Linked DNA regions of Homo sapiens: region 2 is linked to region 1. The links are contacts of gene promoters, found by promoter capture Hi-C in human tissues and cell types (Jung and others, 2019). All regions are on one chromosome and are shown on one strand. The core of a region is centred on a gene start or on the middle of the fragment in contact, and the rest is flanking DNA. Distances in the headings are between cores, read along the strand shown.

The links. The method cuts DNA at HindIII sites, captures the fragments that hold promoters and counts their contacts. A contact is called where the count stands out against the background at its distance.
Region 2: a fragment that was not itself captured here is called in contact with the fragment with the promoter of NLRP7 in region 1 in 1 of the 25 tissues and cell types used here (spleen).

The regions. Positions count from the first base shown.
Region 1 is chr19:54,944,656-54,950,317 of GRCh38, forward strand. NLRP7 (NLR family pyrin domain containing 7) reads right to left here and starts at 2,875. Exons shown (of 11, transcript NM_001127255.2): 1 at 2,814-2,875. The HindIII fragment of the contact is 18,328 bases long and covers 1,873-5,662 here.
Region 2 is chr19:53,893,596-53,899,257 of GRCh38, forward strand. It overlaps PRKCG (protein kinase C gamma), which reads left to right. Exons shown (of 18, transcript NM_002739.5): 10 at 4,364-4,516; 11 at 4,845-5,033. Among named protein-coding and RNA genes, the nearest start is that of CACNG7, 13 kb to the right of the region's middle. RefSeq lists enhancers at 5,180-5,474, 5,182-5,662. The HindIII fragment of the contact is 6,042 bases long and covers 1-5,662 here.

The sequences.
Region 1 (5,662 bases), core at 1,625-4,124:
ACCCCTTCAGTGAGGTATAATTACATATATCCTATTTTAGGATGGAGCAGGAAGAGCATGAGAGCCCAGGAGTTCCAGACCAGCCTGGGCGACACAAGGAGACCTTGTCTCTATTTTTTAAGTATTTTTAAAGTAATATATACAACGTTTACTTGTCAAAGTGTACAGCATGGAGCGATGTTATATATACAGTGAAATGATTACCACAATCCAGCTAATTAACATATCCACTGCTTCATATAGTTGCCTTTCGTTTTTGCAGTGACAACGCTTGATGTACTTAGAAAAATTCAGGGTTTTTTGGCCAGGCACGGTGGCTCACGCCTGTAATCCCAGCACTATGGGAGGCCGAGGCGGGCAGATCACAAGGTGAGGAGCTCAAGACCATCCTGGCTAACACGGTGAAACCCCGTCTCTACTAAAAATACAAAAAAAAAATTAGCCGGGCATGGTGGCGGGCGCCTGTAGTCCCAGCTACTTGGGAGGCTGAGGCAGGAGAATGGCTTGAACCTGGGAGGCGGAGCTTGCAGTGAGCCAAGATCGCGCCACTGCACTCCAGCCTGGGCGAGTGAGACTCCCTCTCAAAAAAAAAAAAAAAAAGAAAAGAAAAGAAAAATTCAGGGTTTTTTTTTTCTTTTTCAGAAAGTCTTGCTCTGTCGCCCAGGCTGGAGTGCAATGGTGCGAGGCTTACCACAACCTCCTCTTCCCGGGTTCAAGCGATTCTCCTGCCTCGGCCTCCCAAGTAGCTGGGATTACAGGTATGCCCCACCACACCTAATTTTTTTTGTATTTTTAGTACAAACGGGGTTTCACCATGTTGGCCAGGCTGGTCTTGAACTCCTGACCTCAGGTGATCTGCCCACCTCAGCCTCCCAAAGTGCTGGGATTACAGGTATGAGCCACCAGGCCTGGCCAAGTATTTTTTTTCCCAAGTACATTTTTTTCTTTTTTTCTTTTTTTTGAGATGGAGTCTCCCTCTGTTGCCCAGGCTGGAGTGCAGTGGCACAATCTCGACTCACTGCAACCTCCACCTCCCAGGTTCAAGTGATTCTAGTGCCTCAGCCTCTCAAGAAGCTGGGATTACAGGCGCACCGCATCACGCCGGGCTAGTTTTTGTATTTTTAGTAGAGACAGGGTTTCTTGTTTTTTTCTGAGATGGAGTCTTGCTCTGTCACCCAGGCTGGAGTGCAGTGGCGCGATCTGGGCTCACTGCAAGCTCCGCCTCCCAGGTTCACGCCATTCTCCTGCCTCAGCCTCCCAAGTAGCTGGGACTACAGGCGCCCGCCACTATGCCCAGCTAATTTTTTTTGTATTTTTAGTAGAGATGGGGTTTCACCGTGTTAGCCAGGATGGTCTCGATCTTCTGACCTCGTGATCCGCCCGCCTCGGCCTCCCATAGTGCTGGGATTACAGGCGTGAGCCACCGCGCCCGGCCGAGACAGGGTTTCTCTATGTTGGCCAGGCTGGCCTCGAACTCCTGACCTCAGCTGATCCACCCGCCTCGGCCTCCCAAAGTGCTGGGATCACAGGCGTGAGCCACCGCATCTGGCCATTTACATTTTTTTTTTTTTTTGATGCAGCATTTCACTCTGGTTGCCCAGGCTGGAGTGCAGTGGCGCAATCTCAGCTCACCGCAACCTCCGCCTCCCGGGTTCAAGTGATTCTCCTGCCTCAGCCTCCCGAGTAGCTGGGATTACAGGCATGTGCCACCACGCCCAGCTAATTTTGTATTTTTAGTAGAGATGGGGTTTCTCCATGTTGGTCAGGCTGGTCTCAAACTCCCGGCCTCAGGTGATCTGAAAGTGCTGGGATTACAGGCGTGAGCCACCGCGCCCAGCCTACTTTTTTTTTTTTTTAAACAGGGTCTTCATCTCATCCAGGCTGGAGTGCAGTGGCTCAATCACACCTCATTGCAGCCCCCACCTCCTGGCTCAGGTGATCCTCCCACCTCACCCCACAAGTAGCTTGGACACAGCACAAGGTCTGGCCTTCTTTGTTTTTTGAGACGGAGTCGCACTCTGTCTCCCAGGCTGGAGTGCAGTGGCGCGATCTCAGCTCATTGCAACCTCCCCCTCCTAGGTTTAAGCTATTCTCCTGCCTCAACCTTCCAAGTAACTGGGATTACAGGCATGCACCACCACACCTGGCTAATTTTTGTGTTTTTAGTAGAGACAGGGTTTCACCATTTTGGGCAGGCTGGTCTCAAACTTCTGGCCTCAAGTGATCCACCCGCCTCGGCCTCCCAAAGTGTTGGGATAACAGGCATGAACCACTGTGCCTGGCCTTATATTTTTTTGTAATGACAGAGTTTTACCATGTTGCCCAGGCTAGTCTCAATCTCCTGAACTCCTCTAAACTATATTTGAATAGAAGTCCTTAAGACATTAGGCCAGGCGTGGTGGCTCACACCTGGAATCCCAGCACTTTGGGAGGCCGAGGCAGACAGATTACCTAAAGTCAGGAGTTCAAGACCAGCCTGGCCAACATGGTGAGACCCCGTCTCTACTAAAAATACAAAAATTAGCTGGGCATGGTGGCACGTGCCTGTAGTCCCAGCTACTCAGGAGGCTGAGGCAGGAGAATGGCGGGTGAACCCAGGAGGCGGAGTTTGCAGCGAACCAAGATCACGCCACTGCACTCCAGCCTGGGCGACAGAGGGAGACTCCGTCTCAAAAAAAAAAAAATCAAAGATCCTTCCAGCATCCTCGCACCAACCATTAAGGCTTGGGAAGGGCTATGGTGGAAACTCAACCAATAGCTTCTTCTCCCTTAAACGAGAAGACAAAGAAATCGATGCAAGAACCAGCACTCACCTCCCTCAGGTCAGGTCTTGCTTCCAGCCTGTGTTTCCTGCAAAGGAAACGGATAAAAAGGGGAGGTCTCTGGCCCTTGGTACGCTAGGTGGAGAGACAGCTTTCCCGCCCAGGGTGGAACCGCCCCACTGAGATTAACATTGGGTGGCTCCCAACCACTGACCTCAGGCTCACCTTGACATCACCTGGGCCCCATCCTCAGGGATTTGGCTGTAATTGGGCTTCAGTGGGCTTTGGAGAATTACGGCTTGCTGAATCTCCCCAGGTGAGATTAATGTGCAATTCCCTTCCTAGACCACCCGGGCCAGGTGTGATAGGCGACAGAACAGGAAATACACATTTTGGGTTTTGCAGGGTACCTGGCTCCCAGCTTTAAAAACTCTTGTAGAGAAAAAAAATTAAACAAAAATAAATAAAAATTAAAAAAAAAGAGGACAAAAACTCCCGTGACTTCCTAAGTTACAAATACAATAAGTCTACTTTGTGGCCAACTGTGGTGCCTCCTGCCTATAAATCCCAGCAGGCTGAGAGGCCTAGGCCAGTGGATCCCTAGGGGCCAGGAGTTTGATACCAGCCTAGGCAACATAGCAAGATGCCATCTCTTCAAAAATATTTAATAATTAGCCATGCATAGGCTGGGCGTGGTAGCTCATGCCTGTAGTCCCAGCAATTTGGGAAGCCGAGGCGGGTGGATCACCTGAGGTCAGGAGTTGGAGACCAGACTGGCCAACGTGGTGAAACTCTGTCTCTACTAAACATACAAAAAATTAGCCAGGTGTGGTGGCAGGTGCCTGTAATCCCAGCTACTCGGGAGGCTGAGACAGGACAATCACTTGAACTAGGGAGGTGGAGGGTGAGTGAGGCACGATCACGCCATTGCACTCCAGCCTGGGTGACAAGAGCAAGACTGTCTCAAAAACAAAAACAAAAAAATTAGCCATACATGATGGGCTGCACCTGTAATCCCAGCTATTCAGGAGGCTGAGGTGGGAGGATCACCTGAGCTCAGGAGTTTGAGGCTGCAGTGAGCTGTGACTGGCCATCTCACTCCAGCCTAGGCCACAGAGTGAGACCCAGTCTCAAAAAAATAAATAGATAACTGATATTTAATTTTTTTTTTTGGATGGAGTCTTGCTCTGTGGCCCAGGCTGGAGTGCAGTGGTGCAATCTCCATTCTTGCAACCTCTGCCTTCCAGGTTCAAGCAATTCTGATGCCTCAGCTTCCCAAGTAGCTGGGACTGCAGGCACATGCCACCATGCCCAACTAATTTTTTGTATTTTTAGTAGAGACAGGGTTTCACCATATTGGTCAGGCTGGTCTCAAACTCCTGATGTCAGGTGATTACAGGCATGAGCCACCGCACCTGGCCTAAAATTGTTTTTAAATAAAACAGTGTATGTTGTGGAAAGCATTCAGCACAGAATTTTGGTAGTTTAAACTGTTAATTTAATGGAAGCAAATGGTCCCACAAATGAAGATGTATATATCAGTTGCAGCATGCCATCTATAGAAATAGGCACTATGGAGGCCTGGCATGGTGGCTCACACCTGTAATCCCTGCACTTTGGAAGGCTGAGGCAGGTGGATCATCTGAGGTCAGCAGTTCGAGACCAACCTGGGCAACATGGCAAAAAACCCCTGGCTACTAAAAATAAAGAATTAGCCAGGCATGGTGGTGTGCACCTGTAATCCCAGCTACTCAGGAGGCTGAGGCGTAAGAATTGATTGAACCTGGGAGTTGGAGGTTGCCGTGAGCCGAGATTGCACCACTGCGCTCCAGCCTGGGCGACAGAGACTCCATCTTTAAAAAAAAAAAAAAAAGATGGCCAGGCGCAGTGGTTCATGAATGTAATCCCAGCACTTTGGGAGGCTGAGGCGGGAGGACTGCCTGAGTCCAGGAGTTCAAGACCAGCCTGGGCAATATGGCGAGACTCCCTCTCTGAAGAAAAAGAAAATAAAAACAATAAAAATAAATTATATTCTAGCTGACAAAAAGAGAGAGAGAGTATATTTTGTTAAAACATTTGGCCTTTAGTCCTAGAGCAGCTATGGAGAGATAAACATGAAAGAGGTATCTCTTGTTATACATACCCAGGCCCTGCAACCACACCTGAGTTTATGTAAATGAGGTGACTTTTGGAAAGCCCCTAGATAACCCCACAAGTGCGAGGGACTGGCTGCCAAAGAAACCGTCAGTGATTAGACATTGGGAACTTTCAGCCCCAGGCTCCAAGTGGCCTCCAGGGAGGGGAGAGGGGCTGAAGGTTGAATTGATTATGAACTGCCAGCTATGTGATCAGCATTGCCCACCTAAGGAATCCTCCATAAACCCCAAAAGAAAAGGGTTTGGGCCGGGTGTCCTGTGGCTCATGCCCGTAATCCCAACGCTTTGGGAGGCCTAGATGGGAGGATTGCTTGAGCCCAAGAATTCTAGGCCAGTCTGGACAAAATAGCAAGACCCTGGCTCTACAAAAAATAAAAAATTAGCCAGGCGTGGTGGAGTGCACCTGTAGACCCAGCTACTCAGGAGGCTGAGGCATGAGAATCACTTGAACGCAGGAGACAGAGGCTGCAGTGAGCTGAGATAGCGCCACTGCACTCCAGCCTGGGTGACGGAGTTAGACTGTCTCAAAAAAAAAAAAAACCAGGAAAGAGTTCAGAAGAGCTTCCTGGTTGGTGAACCCGGGTGCATTCGTGTGCCAGGACTGTGGTGCACCCCAGGTCCACAGGGACAGAAGCTCCTGCACTTCGGACTCCTCTAAACCTCCCCCTACGCATCTCTTCCTTGGCTGTTCATTTGTATCCTTTAAAATATGAAAGGGCGGGTTGCCCCTCCACACCTGTGGGC
Region 2 (5,662 bases), core at 1,445-3,944, 1.1 Mb before region 1:
GATACTTAAAATACAGGAAGATGTGCTAAATTAGAGGTAGCCCAGGGCACTGAAGAGGCCTAACGGAGGCACTAATCCAGCCTGGGGGAGGGTGGTCAGGGAGGACTTCCCTGAGGAGGTGACGCCTGAATTGATTCTTGAGGTTTTTTAAAATTTTTTAATTTATTTTTATTTTTATTTTTATTTTTATTTCTGTCGCCCAGGCTGGAGTGCAATGGCACAATCTCGCCTCACTGCAACCTCCAGCTCCCGGGTTCAAGCAATTCTCTTGCCTCAGCCTCCTGAGTAGCTGGGATTACAGGTGACCGCCACCACACCCAGCTAATTTTTTTTTTATTTTTAGTAGAGATGGGATTTCGCCATGTTGGCCAGGCTGATCTCAAACTCCCAAACTCAGGTGATCCGCCTGCCTTGGCCTCCCAAAGTGCTGGGATTACAGGCATGAGCCACTGCGCCCGACCGATTCTTGAGTTTTTTATTTTTTTTTTGAGACGGAGTCTCGCTGTGACGCCCAGGCTGGAGTGCAGTGGTGCGATCTCGGCTCACTGCAAGCTCCGCCTCCTGGGTTCACGCCATTCTCCTGCATCAGCCTCCTGAGTAGCTGGGACTACAGGCGCCCACCACCATGCCCGGCTAATTTTTTGTATTTTTAGTAGAGATGGGGTTTCACCGTGTTAGCCAGGATGGTCTCGATCTCCTGACCTGGTGATCCACCCGCCTCAGCCTCCCAAAGTGCTGGGATTACAGGCGTGAGCCACCACACCCAGCCGATTCTTGAGTTTTAAAAAATCTATCAAGCATGATCATCTTAATCTCTCCATTCATTCATTCACTCACTGAATATCCTTCTTTTTCTTTCTTTCTTTCTTTCTTTTTTTTTTTGAGACAGAATCTCCTTTTGTCACCCAGGTTGGAGTGCAGTGATGCAGTCTCAGCTCACTGCAACCTCTGCCTCCCAGATTCAAGTGATTCTCCTGCCTCAGCCTCCTGAGTAGTTGGGATTACAGGAGCGCACCACCACACCTGGCTAATTTTTGTATTTTTAGTAGAGATGGGGTTTCGACATGTTGGCCAGGCTGGTCTCGAACTCCTGACCTCAAGTGATCCACCCGCCTTGGCCTCCCAAAGCGCTGAGATTAGAGGCGTGAGCGACCACGCCCAGACGAATACCCATTTTCTAGGGTGTCATAAGCCAGGCCCTGTTCTGGGAATAGAATCAGGCCATTCCCTGGTGGAGCTCTTCTTCTAGTGGAGGACAAAGTTACAAACCCAGACATTCACAACGAGGAGCAATGCTGCTGTAATGGAGACAGCCTCAGGCACTGGGGCGTCCCTGGCACAGCCTGAGTCAGAGAAAGCTTCCTAGAGAGGTGAGACCTGGTAGAAGGGCGGGATTTCCCAAAGGAGAGACCAGATTTTCAGGCAGGAGGAAGTAATGCTCTCTCCCTCATTTACCCTTTCAAAAAATACTTTACAGAGCATCTTTGTGTGCCAGGCGTGGCTCTACTCACTGGGGATATAGAGAAAGCAGGGAAAGAACAAACAAACAAACAAAAAAGTTCCTTTCCTTATGGGATTTACACCGGGAGGAAGACATTAAACAAAATATATAAGCATATGATAGACTGGGCACGATGCCTCATGTCTGTGATCCTAGTAAGGCGGGCGGATCACCTGAGGTCAGGAGTTTGAGACCAGCCTGGCCAGCGTGGCAAAACCCCATCTCTACTAAAAAATACAAAAATCAGCTGGGCATGGTGGAGGCGCCTGTAATCCCAGCTACTCGGAAGGCTGAGGCAGGAGAATTGCTGGATTCCGGGAAGTAGAGGCTGCAGTGAGCCCAGATCGCTCCACTGCACTCCAGCCTGGATGACAGAGGGAGACTCTGTCTCAAAAAAAAAAAAAAAAAAAAAGAAGACAAGAATCTTCAAGATTCAACAACAGCAACAACATGTTATAGTCTTTACTGGACTCTTACAGAAACTTTCACCAGAGTTTTTAATGTTGTGTGTGGGGGTTCACCTGCATCAGAATTCCTAGAGTGCTTGCTTTTAAAAGCACATTCCCCAGCCTTTCTGCAGACCTACTCAGTGACGATCTCTCTGATGCCTCAAATGTCTGCCTACTAAATTAATTCCTCAGGTGATCCTTTTGCAAAGTTAAGTTTGAGAATGGGCTCTGCGGCCGGGCGCAGTGGCTCACGCCTGTCATCCCAGCACTTTGGGAGGCCAAGGCGGGTGGATCACGAGGTCAGGAGATCGAGACCATCCTGGCTAACACGGTGAATCCCCGTCTCTACTAAAAATACAAAAAAATTAGCTGGGCGTGGTGGTGGGTGCCTGTAGTCCCAGGTACTCAGGAGGCTGAGGCAGGAGAATGGCATGAACCTGGGAGGTGGAGCTTGCAATGAGCCGAGATCGTGCCACTGCACTACAGCCTGGGTGACAGAGCGAGACTCTATCTCAGAAAAAAAAAAAAAAGAGAGAATGGGCTCTGCAGGAGACAAGGGTACCAGCGGGAGGACATTCTGAGCCAAAGAGGTAGAGTCTTTTGAGATCAGCAGGGATGATCCTCCCGTACAAACCCAAGAAACCCAGCAGGGCAGATGGTGGGCAAAGGCCTAGAGGCAGGGAGTGTAGGGTGGTGTGTGTGCCTGTTGTGGCTCACAGCACTCTCCCACAGTTCAGCAGGCACCACTTAATATTACCAATGAACACCAACTCTGTGCCAAGCCTTGAGCTAGGTACGGGGCTAACAACACAGCAAACAGAAACAGCCCTGATTATTATTATTATTATTATTATTATTATTATTATTATTATTATTATGTATTTATCTATTTGAGACACAGTCTCGCTCTGTCGCCCAGGCTGGAATGCAGTGGAGCGATCTCAGCTCACTGCAACCTCTGCCTCCCGGGTTCAAGCGATTCTCCTGCCTTGGCCTCCCAAGTAGCTGGGACTACAGGCATGTGCCACCATGTCCTACTAATTTTTATATTGCTAGTAGAGATGGGGCTTCGCCATGTTGGCCAGGCTGGTCTTGAACTCCTGACCTCAGGTGATCTGCCCACCTCGGCCTCCCAAAGTGCTGGGATTACAGGCATGAGCCACCGCACCCAGCCCTCAACAAATATTTATGTAGCCTCAATGAGGTAGGCAGTGTTACTGTGTCTTAGCGAACAAAGCAGACCCCTGCCTTAGGGAGCTCACAGGCAGAAAGCAGATAGTCACACAGATAGATGTAAATTACTAAGAATAAAAGTGCCAGGAAGGTGCTGTCCATGGTGACCAAGGGGTGGTAAGAGAGGCATCTGACCCAGTTTAAAAAGTCAGGCGAGGCCTCTATGAAGTGATGCTTGAGTCAAGGTCTAAAGGGTGTTTGGGAGACAACTAGGAGGGAAGGGGAGGGGAGAGCTTTACAGGAAGACCTAACGGCACATCCAGAGGCCCTGAGGTGGGAGGGAGGACAATGAGTGTCAGGCCAGGGTGGCTGGACCATGGAGCCTGGGAGAGAGAAGAACAACCTGCAGTGTCAGTCTCAGCCTGGCTCTGCAAGTCATGTGGAATAAAATCTTAACACAGAGGGAGCAGTTAAAGGGTTTACAAGCATAGGGGAGACATGACCTGGTTTATTTATTTTTAAATTGGCTCCTGTGCCTGCTGAGTAGAGAATGCATTAGAAAGGGCAGCCGTCCATGTAGAGGGACAAGTGTGGAAGCTGTGACAGCAGCTTAGTCTTGGGCCCCCTCCCTGGGGGGCCGAGGCAGGAAAAGGTAGAGAAGGGACCCTAGCTGAAAGCCAGGTGTGCTCCCTGGACTGGCAGCACCCATGTCACCCAGAAGCTTTTTACACATAACGATTCTCAGGTCCCACCCCAGATTTATAGAGTTAGAAAATCTGGCAGTGGGACCCAGCAATCTGTTTTACCAAACCCTCTAGGGAATTCCGGCTTAGAGGCTAAGAGCAACCAGATTCTAGAGCTGGACTGCTTGGGTTTCATTTCTGGCTCTGTCCTTTACCTGCTGTGTGACTTGGGGCAAGTTACTTAACGTCTCTGTGCTAGTCTCCTCTTCTGTAAAATGGAAACGATAGCAGGGTTTTCTGGAAACAGCATATGATAAGCTATCTAAAAAAAAAAAAGAAGAAAAAAAGAGCTAAGTGTTTGTTGAATAATAAATAAACCCTCCAGGCTATGGGGAGTCAGAGAAAATTAAGCCAAGGACAGGGTAGGAGGGTGGCCATTTTCCTCTGTCTAGCGATTCTCATCCTTTCCTTTCTTGGGTGCTGTGTCTCTTGGGAGCATTTCCTTATCGCTGTGTAAGGTCTAACTGCCTCTGGCTCTTTCTTTCTCCTTTCCACAGCGGGTGCGGATGGGCCCCTCTTCCTCTCCCATCCCCTCCCCTTCCCCTAGTCCCACCGACCCCAAGCGCTGCTTCTTCGGGGCGAGTCCAGGACGCCTGCACATCTCCGACTTCAGCTTCCTCATGGTTCTAGGAAAAGGCAGTTTTGGGAAGGTTGGATTCCTGGGGTTCTGGGGGAAAGGGAGGATGTCTGTGGGAAGGTCAGATTTCTGGTTCTTAGGGAGGAAGTGGGGGTGGGAAGAGACTGGGCTCCTGCATCTTCAAATATGGTTAGGTTGGGCCGTTCAGGTTCCTGGAGAGGAGAGGTTTACAGATGTGGACACTCTCCTTGAGGGGACGGGCGGCAAGTCAGGGCTGTCAGTCCCTTAAGAGATGGAGGAAGGGCCTGGGATCCCGTTTCCCTGCGTCCCTTAGGGAGGGGGCAGGTCCTGTACCACTGGGTTCCCAACATGGACTGGCCCTTTTGGAACTGTGCGCATAGGTGATGCTGGCCGAGCGCAGGGGCTCTGATGAGCTCTACGCCATCAAGATCTTGAAAAAGGACGTGATCGTCCAGGACGACGATGTGGACTGCACGCTGGTGGAGAAACGTGTGCTGGCGCTGGGGGGCCGGGGTCCTGGCGGCCGGCCCCACTTCCTCACCCAGCTCCACTCCACCTTCCAGACCCCGGTAAGGATGGAGGGGGCGGAGGCTGTCCTCCGGGCCCTGCCTTATCCAGTTCTGGACATCTGCGTTGGGATTCTGAGTTTAGGGCGAGGCAAGAGAACTTTGTGCTCTCTGAGTGGGCGAGGCCAGGCGGATTGTCTCCTCAGGGGGCGTGGCCGGGGGGGGGTCCTTGGGGGGCGTGGCCAGGCGAAGGGACTCATCGGGGGGCGTGGCCAGGCGGAGGGGCTCAACGGAGGCGAGGCCGGGTGGAGGGGCTCCTCGGGGGCGTGGCCAGGTGGAGGGACTCATCGGGGGCGTGGCCAGGCAGAGGGGCTCTTCGCGGGGCGTGGTCAGGCGGATGAAATCTTTGGGGGGGTGGTTTAGAGGGGCGGGCTTTGTCAGGCGATGGGATCATTAATAGGCGTGGCCAGGCAGATTGGCTCCTTGGGGGCGAGGCCAGGCAGACGAGATTATGAATGAGCGTATCCAGGCAGGTAGATTCTTCGGAGGGCGTGGTCGGGCGGATGAGCTCCTCGGGGGCGTGGCCAGGCGGTGAGTTCCTCGGTGGCATGGCCTGGCCAGGTGAATGGGTCCTGCGGAGGTGTCGTGAAGCGGTTGAGTTCCTTGGGGGCGTGGCCAGGTGGATGGGCTCT